Regions from separate parts of the Homo sapiens genome. Here all the other regions are linked to region 1. Evidence: promoter capture Hi-C in 16 types of primary human blood cells and fetal thymus (Javierre and others, 2016). All regions are on one chromosome and are shown on one strand. The core of a region is centred on a gene start or on the middle of the fragment in contact, and the rest is flanking DNA. Distances in the headings are between cores, read along the strand shown.

Evidence for each region. The method cuts DNA at HindIII sites, captures the fragments that hold promoters and counts their contacts. A CHiCAGO score of 5 or more calls a contact.
Region 2: a fragment that was not itself captured here is called in contact with the fragment with the promoter of WWC3 in region 1 in 1 of 17 cell types (total CD8 T cells); the score reaches 5.3 in total CD8 T cells.
Region 3: a contact is called between the fragment with the promoter of STS here and the fragment with the promoter of WWC3 in region 1, in 2 of 17 cell types (activated CD4 T cells and total CD8 T cells). The highest score is 5.8, in activated CD4 T cells.

Annotation. Positions count from the first base shown.
Region 1 is chrX:10,013,786-10,016,732 of GRCh38, forward strand. It overlaps WWC3 (WWC family member 3), which reads left to right and starts at 1,469. Exons shown (of 24, transcript NM_015691.5): 1 at 1,469-1,888; 2 at 1,891-2,073. The coding sequence starts at 1,794. RefSeq lists enhancers at 1-467, 468-1,351 and silencers at 1,172-1,341, 1,382-1,441. The HindIII fragment of the contact is 8,733 bases long and covers 1-2,947 here.
Region 2 is chrX:7,930,187-7,933,372 of GRCh38, forward strand. The region is part of intron 1 of LOC107985675 (a long non-coding RNA gene); the gene reads left to right. Among named protein-coding and RNA genes, the nearest start is that of PNPLA4, 4.4 kb to the left of the region's middle. The HindIII fragment of the contact is 876 bases long and covers 1,363-2,238 here.
Region 3 is chrX:7,146,319-7,149,358 of GRCh38, forward strand. It overlaps STS (steroid sulfatase), which reads left to right and starts at 1,394. Exons shown (of 11, transcript NM_001320752.2): 1 at 1,394-1,765. PUDP (pseudouridine 5'-phosphatase) reads right to left here and starts at 1,835. Exons shown (of 4, transcript NM_012080.5): 1 at 1,735-1,835. The coding sequence starts at 1,795. It overlaps MIR4767 (microRNA 4767), which reads left to right and starts at 1,542; the gene lies at 1,542-1,619. RefSeq lists a silencer at 1,355-2,074 and an enhancer at 2,265-2,314. The HindIII fragment of the contact is 8,353 bases long and covers 179-3,040 here.

The DNA.
Region 1 (2,947 bases), core at 219-2,718:
GGCGTGCGCCACCATGCCCGGCTAATTTTTGTATTTTTAGTAGAGACGGGGATTTCACCATGCTGGCCAGGCTCGTCTCGAACTCCTGACCTCGTGATCCGCCCGCCTGGGCCTCCCAAAGTGCTAGGATTACAAGCGTGAGCCACCGCGCCCGGCCCATTCTTCTTTTTTAAAACAACCTTTCCCCTCATAAAAGTAATATTACCATTTTACAAAAAATTGGAAGGCAAATCATTTTTAAAAATCCCGCCAAAGGAATGCAAACTCTTGTGAGCATTTCAGGACATTTTCCTCCAGTCTCTTCCCCTGTGTATCTGGATTTCAATCAGGCTCTACCAGATATTTTTGTATCACTGTAACTGTTTAAAAATCTCCCTGATACTGTCCTGCATTTCCTGGCATAACGTGTTGCGGCTGTGGGTCTGGGGCACGAAGTAGGTGGGAGATTTAGAGCAAGACACAGCCCCAACTCTGGAGCTTCAGCTTCCCCAGCTGGGAGCCAGTGAAACAGAAGTTCCCGTCTAGGCTGAAAGTTTTAGGAGTTGACCCGGCTTCCTCCCCAGCAATGGTCTACTTGGGTCTCCGCTCAAACGATCAGACCCCACAAACCGGATGAAGCGCTCAGGGAAGGTCAAGGAACTCCCGCCTAGTGTGGGCCCCCAGGTTAGCCCTTCTAGGGCTGTCCTGGCGGGGACGCAAAGTGGCCACCTGCCCAGCTGCCCGCTTCCAGAGGCGTCCTCCCTGCGCCGCCCGAGAGGACCGGCCGCGGGCTCCCCCAGCTCCTCAGCTCCCTCGGCCCCGCCTTCAGGGGCTTTTCCCACCTTCGCGGGACCAGACGGGTTGTGTGGGAGACCGAGGGCGCAGCCTCCCGCCAAGTGCGCAGAGGGTCTCCAGACAGCCAGAGCCCGGGAGCGGGTGAAGGGAGGGCACTGCCCGCTCTCTCGGGAATTGTTTGCGCCCGAGGAGTCACCCCAGGCAGGCCGCGCCCGCAGTCCGGGTAGGGCGTCGTCCTCCCCGCCCGCCTTCCTCTACGCGGGGGCCCGGGGGCGGACTGACGCGGCGGCGCCCATCCTGGCCTCCATGCGGTTTCCCGAGGCCGGAGGAAGGTGGCGGAGCGGGAGGGAGAGAGCGAGGAGCGCGCGGAGAGGGAGGACGGCGGAGGGGGAGGAGCAAGCGGAGGGGTGGGGGTGGGGTCGAGGAGCCGAGCGCCGAGGAGGACCCCGAGGGAGACTGGGGGCGGAGCAGCCGGCGACGGAGAGGCGCGGAGGACGCGGGGCCGGGGGAGGCGGAGCAGCGGGAGTGGGTGGAAAAGCAGAGGCGGCGGGAGGAGCGGGAGCCTCCGTGGGAGATTCGGGAGGAGCAGCCGGCGTGGGTGGAGCCGCCGGCGTGGGAGGAGCCGCGGGGCCTGGGTGAGAACGGGGCGGGACGGCCGGAGGCGGGGCCTGCGAACGCCCTGCCCCTGCTCGCCCGGGCCGCGCCGAGGAACGAAGATGGCCGGGCGCGCCGCGGGAACGGAGGGGCGGCCGGCAGCGGCGGCGGCGGCGGCGGCGGCTCCCGGGCTGTGACTTCGCGCGCGGCGGCCACCCGGGCTACCTGAACGGAGTGGGCGGCGCGGGCAGCGGCTTGCTAGGGCGGGCGGGCGGACGCCGGTGCACGGGCGCCGGGCGGAGGATGCGCCAGGAGCGGCGGGCGGCTCCCCGCGGCCGCCCCCGCGCCCCGGGCGCCGGGCCTTAGTGCTGGCGGAGGAGGCGGCGCGCGCGGGGCGGCCGGGCGGCGGCGGGGCCCGCGCCGTCATGCCTTGGCTGAGCGGCGGCCGGCGGCGACGGCGGGGACAGCCGCGCGAGGCCCCGCGGGAGCCGCCGCCTTCTGCGCAGCCCCAGCGGGAACCGCGCCGCCGGCGCCCCCCGCCGCGGTCCCCACGCCCCCAGCTCCTTCCGCGCCGCCGCCGCGGGCCCGGGAGAGCGCCGAGCTGCCGCTGCCCGCCGGCTGGGAGGAGGCGCGAGACTACGACGGTCGCGTCTTTTACATTGACCACAACACGCGCCAGACGTCGTGGATCGACCCCCGCGACCGGTAAGCGGGCCGGCTGGGGGCGCCAGACCCGGCGCGGGCGCTACGACCCGGGCCGCCGGCCGGCGCCACCGCGGATGCGCTGGGGACACGCCCCGCCCAGCGCGGGGCCGCCGCCGAGAGCCCCCGGGCCCGGGCAGAGCTCGGAGCGCCTCCATCCCCGGAACCAGGGGACTCCCTGGAGTGCTCCGGTCCAGGCTACGATCGAGGCGCCCCCATCCCTTGGGCCCAGGGAGAGGATCGGAGACACCAGGAGGCCCTCGGGGCTGGGTGAAGATCTTTGGTTCCGGGGGTCCGGGAGAGGATCCACCCTCCCAATACCCCGACTCCCAGGGCTCTGACCAAGAATGGAGGTGCCCCTTCTCCAGGCCTCGAGCCCTCTGAGCGCCGAGGCCGGCCGCCTACAGGTCCCCCGCCGCTGGGCGGACCCTCTCATTCGGTTCCCTCACGTCACCCGCTGTCCGGCGCCTGGGAACTGGGCTCCTGGAATTTCCTCTCCTGGGGCTGACAGATGGCCCTCTTTTCCTTTCTCTGCGGCAGCCTCGCCCATCCCGGTCCCGGGCGTCTGCGGCCCACTGCCCCGGCCCTGGTTCTGCAGGTGTCCCCAGCCCCGCGGTGGCGAGATGAGCTGTCACCTTGGATCACAAACGTGCGCCCCAGCTTTGGGGTGCGGGTTCCCTGTCTGGCGGGTTCAGGCTGGTTTCCATCCAAAACCTGATGTCAGACGGGCCCTTGAGGGATTCCCAACCCTTTTGGAGTTGGAGAAGTCTGTTCCCAAACTCTAGTTGCTCTTTAGCGCCTTAAAACTCGTGAGTTAAAACTGTTTGAAATAGCCTTCTGTACTGCAGCCAGAATGCAATATGATTAGTCCCATATG
Region 2 (3,186 bases), core at 551-3,050, 2.1 Mb before region 1:
AGAAACAAAATGCCCCAGCTTGATGGCTCCTTTTCCTCTCCAGTGCTTCCTCTCAGGAGATTTTATCCTGTATCCCATAAGGGAGGAGAAATGGACATGGGTAAGTGTTGCTTGTCCACACCTCTGCTCCAGGGAAAGGACCATATCTCAGAATCTTTGAGTCTAATCAGTTCTTTCAGTCTACTCTCCTTGTGGTGTTATTTCATTTTCCAGTCTTGGCATTTTTTTTTTTTTTTTGAGACAGAGTTTTGCTCTTGTTGCCCAGGCTAGAGTGCAATGGCGCCATCTCAGCTCACCGCAACCTCCGCCTCCCGGGTTTAAGCGATTCTCCTGCCTCAGCCTCCCGAGTAGCTGGGATTACAGGCATGTGCCACCACGCCCTGCTAATTTTGTATTTTTAATAGAGACGGGGTTTCTCCATGTTGGTCAGGCTGGTCTCGAACTTCTGACCTCAGGTGATCTGCCCGCCTCGGCCTCCCAAAGTGTTGGAATTACAGGCGTGAGCCACTGTGCCCGGCAGGCATCTTAACACCTCTTGTCGGTCAACGTTACAAGTGCTTTGGTTTTTTAAAAAAACAAATCTCTTGTCGTGTATTCAATATGCTTTGCTTATTCTGCCTCCTGCTTGATAACTGCTCTTCTTTGTCACTTCCTCCCCAAATCTTGCAAACTGATCCCGATGAGCTGTGGAGCTTAGATACATGCACTTTAATTTCAGGGGAGTGTGGCAACACTGCTGGAGCACTGCCCTTTCCATGGGGGCTTCAAAGTGATACTCATGATAACATGCCCTCTGTGCCTAGTTTAAGCAATATCTTGTCTTGAGACCACCATGGAGTTCAGAGAAAGGAACTTTTGCAATCTTGGAGTAGAACTGCCCATCCGAAACCATAGAAAGAGGGGCTACTTCCTTCCTATAGATCACCATCTCTAGGAACACAGTGAGGGAATAGATGAAGAAGGTCATGTGTGAATGCCACTATGTGGAGGGAGCCAGCCTGAAAACAGAGGCAGCTTAGAGGGATCCAGAGCTGAGAATGAGGTAGAGAGAGAGAGACAGACAGACAGACAGACAGACACAGACAGGCACCTAGGTGTGGTTGCCCCTCTTGAGCCTGTGGATGCAAATGTAATATTATACATTGAACTGAAAAATAGAGATGGTAAGGATTTCCTGAGTATTTCTGTTATCGTATTAGAATTCCTTAATTACAGTGCTTGTAACTGGTGTTCTAGATAAGGTAGAGCCGGTAAGCTTTCAAAGGTTTCATGCATAAACAATATATTTTATATTCCTGACTCGCTTTCCCCACTACACCTACCCTTTTCTATTTGTTAAGTTAGTTAGCATTGAGTTTCTAAAGCTTGCAAACCAAACCGTTCTTACTAATGTAAGTGCTTTTTACATTGCGCATGGCTGTTTTCCATTAGAAATATGCTACAAAAACTGACTACTTAAAGGAACACTGGGTAAATTCTTTCTAAATGTAATATACTTTCAAAAAATATGAATTTTATATATATACCATATTATATATATTACATTATTACATATTTCTGTTATATATATGTTTACATATTTATATAAAACAAAATAAGACTTTTCTTTGATAGCATCTGTGTTTTAGTCTGTTCAGACTGCTATAACAAAATACCCAAAACCGGGTGGCTTATGAACAATAGAAATGTGTTTCTCACAGATCTAGAAGATGAACATTCCAAGATAAGTCACTAGCAGATGGTGTGTGTTGAGGTCCTATTTCCTGATTCATAGATGGCACCTTTTTGCCCTGTCCTCACATGGTGGAAGGGGCAAGGGAGCTCTCTGGGGCCACTTTGATAAGGGCACTAAACCCATTCATGAGGCTCCACCTTCAGGACCTCCTCCCCTCCCAAAGACCGCACATCCTAACACCATCACTGTGGGGGATAGGATTCAACAAATACATTTTTGGGATGGGACACAAACATTCAGACCATAGCAATCTGAAAACATAATTCAAAATAGCCATCCTTTGGAAATATAATTTATTTATGACTCAGTATATCTGATAATATATGATAATCTTTAGATCTTTTAACATGGTGTTGAAACTAAATATCAGACTATTTCTATTAAAGAGAAACATTTTAAAAATGTGACATTTATTTTATAAACTTCATTTTAATTTAATATGTGAAGGGTTCCAAATGTAATATTATGCATTGAGCTGAAAAACAGAGATAGTAAAGTAGGCAAGCTTTCAGAGTTCTTATACTTAAACGATATATTTTATAGAAAACGGGTTCAGATCCTTGATAGCCAGGTGGTGAGTATGTGGTACCAAATGTACACATAATCCTAAATATTTTTTAAAATCCCAGTCAAAGAAAACTGGTATTCTCTGCTCTGTGTACTTCATCGCAAAGCAACTGTACAGTGGACATGGCTGCTAGGGGTCCACCAATTGTTCAGACATAAATAGTCCTTTCTAGCCTTCAAATATTTTTCTTATCATGGAGCCGATTACTGAGGAAATAATATCAATATCAAGTAAGTAATATTGTTGGGTGACAGGTGGACAGCTTCAGTGCCTTATGCTCCATCAAATTCACCAAAATACTGTATTTTAATTTGGAGTACAAGATCTAGACATTACCAGTGCTGTTATCAAAATGAACACCGTAACTACTAAAACATTTAATTATCTAATCACCTCATTTCAAAGAGACAAAATAAAGATTTTGGTCTATTCTTTGTTAGTAAAATGCCTTGCTTTCCTGAGCACCCACTCCTATTATTAGAATCTTATTATTAATATTTACTACACTTATTGTCTGCCCACTCCATGCCAGTCCTTTATATACATTGTCTCATATCACTTGTACAATGTTAAAAGATAGAAATATATGGGCCGGGCGTGGTGGCTTACAGCTATAATCCCAGCACTTTGGGAGGCCGAGGCAGGTAGATCACCTGAGGTTGGGAGTTCGAGACCAGCCTGACCAACATGGAGAAACCCCGTCTCTACTAAAAATACAAAATTAGTTGGGCGTGGTAGCGCGTGTCTATAATCCCAGCTACTCAGGAGGCTGAGGCAGGAGAATCACTTGAACCCGGGAGGTGGAGCTTGCGGTGAGCTGAGATGGCGCCATTGCACTCTAGCCTGGGCAACAAGAGTGAAACTCTGTCTCAAAAAAAAAAAA
Region 3 (3,040 bases), core at 144-2,643, 2.9 Mb before region 1:
AGAAGTTTAATAAATTTAATTTTAATGAGACATCTTGTTTGGTATTAAAATTCATGAGACTCCCAGAACAGGTTCTCTGGACCTTTATTAGAGGATAAGAAATTTATTTGACAATTTAACTTTTTGACCACCGGAGTAGGAAAATTCATGTCTACAAACTATACCTATGTATCCCACAAGCTTTCTGAAATTGAGTCATTTCAAATTTAGTAGCTGCATACACCGTTGGCTCCAATTAGTGACCTCTACGGGGATTTTTTTTTTCCTTTGGAATTCATCAGTTTACACCTCTGTGTTCATAAAATGAAGAGAATGGTTTCTGCATGCCTTTTTAAAAGGAAACACTGCTAGGGAATTACCCAGCAATATGATGAGCAGAAACAAGGTCACATTCACAATTTAAGATGAGCTCAACATCATTTATATTTAGAACTGGATCAATCCAGAATCGTTTCTCAGCTTGGCTTATTAGCTGTGTGACCTTGGGCAAGTAGCTTTACCTCTCTGAGCTGCAGGGTTTTTTTTTTTTTTTTTTTTTTAATTAGTGACATGCAAATACTTCCTCCTAACTTGCAGGGTTTTGAAATGAAGGAATGATATACGTAACCAAGCAGGTCAGCTGTCTACAAAGAGTATGCAGACATGTTTATAGATATATGAAGCCTCCTGGTGATTATGTGTCATAGTGTTAACTGTGTCAAGGCTTTCGGTAGAGCTCAGCATAGTTCTGTCTTGAGTTAAAAACAGGGTTTTATTCTTTGAATTCTACTTGAATTCCTCTTGGCTGGTGAAGTTCACATGTGCTAAGACTGACTACCTTAGTACACTGCCAAGGGTTTCTTAATGCCTCGGATTGATAGAGCAGCTGTTCTCAAACGTTCACGCGCTTAAAATGCAGATTCTGATTGGGCAGGGGTAGGGTGGGGCCCCAGCTTCTACATTTACAAGTAGCCCACAGGTGATGTCCCCGGTGCTGGTCACCCTAGGCAGCCAGGCCACTTGACGGACCTTCTGTGCCTCTACACTGTTGACGGCGCGGGATAATTCCTTATGGTTGCATAGGGCACTCCTGTGCACTGCGGGAAGTTTAACAGTATCACTGGTCTGGACTCCACTAGATGCCAGTGACCCCATCACTCCTCGCCAGCTGTGACAGCCAAAATGTCTCCTGACATCGCCATTGCCAGATGCCCTCAGGGCTGCAAAACCGCCAGGTAGAGAACCGCTACCATGCAGGATGCTACCATCAAAGTGCGCCCACAGCAGCAACCTTGGAGCAGGCAGGCAAGTATCCTCCAGGCTACTTTGCAGACGGGGAAGCTGAGGCTGGGCACCGCTCAAGGTCGCACGCATGCGTAACCGAAAAGAGAGCGCGGAGGTCCCGCCGCGCCTCGCTCTGAGGAGAGGACGCGGAGCCGCGCGCCCGCCCGGTGGACCCCAGGGACTGCTCCCACGTGCTCCGGCCCCACGCGCGGGCCGCCGACCGGAAGCGGGTGCTGGGGCCGCGTAGACGCCGCGGCCACGCGCGCCCGCCAGCCCGGACATGGGCCCGCGGGCGCTCCTGGCCGCCGCCCGACTTCGGGGCCAGCCGGGGGCAGAGCGCGCGGGAGCCCGAGCGTCCCTGCATGAACACCGCCCCGCCGCGGCCCCCAGGCCGTGACGTACCCCGCGCCGACCGTCCCCACGCCCACACAAGACCGCCCTTACTGGAGGCGGCGGCTGCACACTACCCACCCAGAAGAAGTCCGTCCATGTCAAAGATGAGGTGGGTGACGGGCTGCGGGGGCGCCGCCATGGTGGCGCCTTCTGGGTCTGGGTGGGGGCGAGGAGGAAGTGCGCGCGCACCCGCCCGCCCCGCGCACGCGCACTGAGGACCTTCTCGCGCGCCCGGGGTCGCTCTGCGCACGCGCCTTCCGCGGCCCCTCGCCCGGCTCCGAGCCCGCGCGTCCTGGGCTGCCTAGTGGCGCTCCGCGCACGCGCACCTTGGGCTTTCGCCGCAGCTGTAGCTGCAGACCCGGGATGCGGCGCGGGCCGGCGCTGTATGTTTACCCGCATCAATTCCTCCTCACTTCACACCCGGAATCGGGCCAAGCTACTCAGCCAGCGGCCGCGCAGAGCCGAGGCCCTCGTCTGGGGACAAATTCAGTGCTTGAGTTTGGATCAGGGGTGTGAATGAGGAAGGAGGGACAGTACAAGGGGCTGTAGAGTGGGGAAAGGGGATTGAAGATGCTCAGGGTGGTATCACTTCTAGCCATCAGGTTGCAGACAAATGGCCTTGGTCAGGAGGTCCCTGGGTGGGTTCGCCCGAGCCCCCAGTCCCTGGACCGTGGGTGGGTTTTTCTCAGTTTCGCTTGCCCGCCTCCTTGCGGTCCTGGACCGCGACTTGAACCGGCAGCCGCGCATGCGCAGTGTGCGGAGAGGCTGCACAACCTCCGTGCCTGCATCTCTGAGCATCCCAGGCTGGTGCATTGTCCCAGAGCAAAGCCAAGCTGCTCAAGGAGGATGCTGAAATAATACTAACAGTCAACATGTCTTGCTGGTTGTGCCTTCTTAGGTATCATCTGTCTTTTGGGCTGCTCTGAGTTTTCTTTCTTTTTTAACTTTTCAAATGCCACCTAAACAGCTTTCTTTTTTTTTTTTCCCGTTTGCCATCGTCAAAAAAATACTTTTTTGTCCCTGTTTCTATTTCGTGTTCGTTTATGTGGTATATTCACGTTTAAGGAAAAGGATTGGACCTTTTGAGAAGCGGAAATAGGAGAATTTCAAGACTTTAAAAACGTGAGGGTGTGCTGGGCGCAGTGGCCCACACCTGTAATCCCAGTACTTAGGGAGGCAGAAGTGGGAGTTGGGGGAATAGTTTGAGCCCAGAAGTTTAAGAACTGCCTGGGCAATATAGCGAGACCCTGTTCTCCACAAAAGGGGAAAAAGACAAAAAAAAAAAGGTGTAAACATGAGAGTGTATTTCTAGTTTAGTGCAGACATAGTGGACAGGGGCATGCCTGGATTCAGCAAGAATTATTATCTATGATAGACAAAGTGC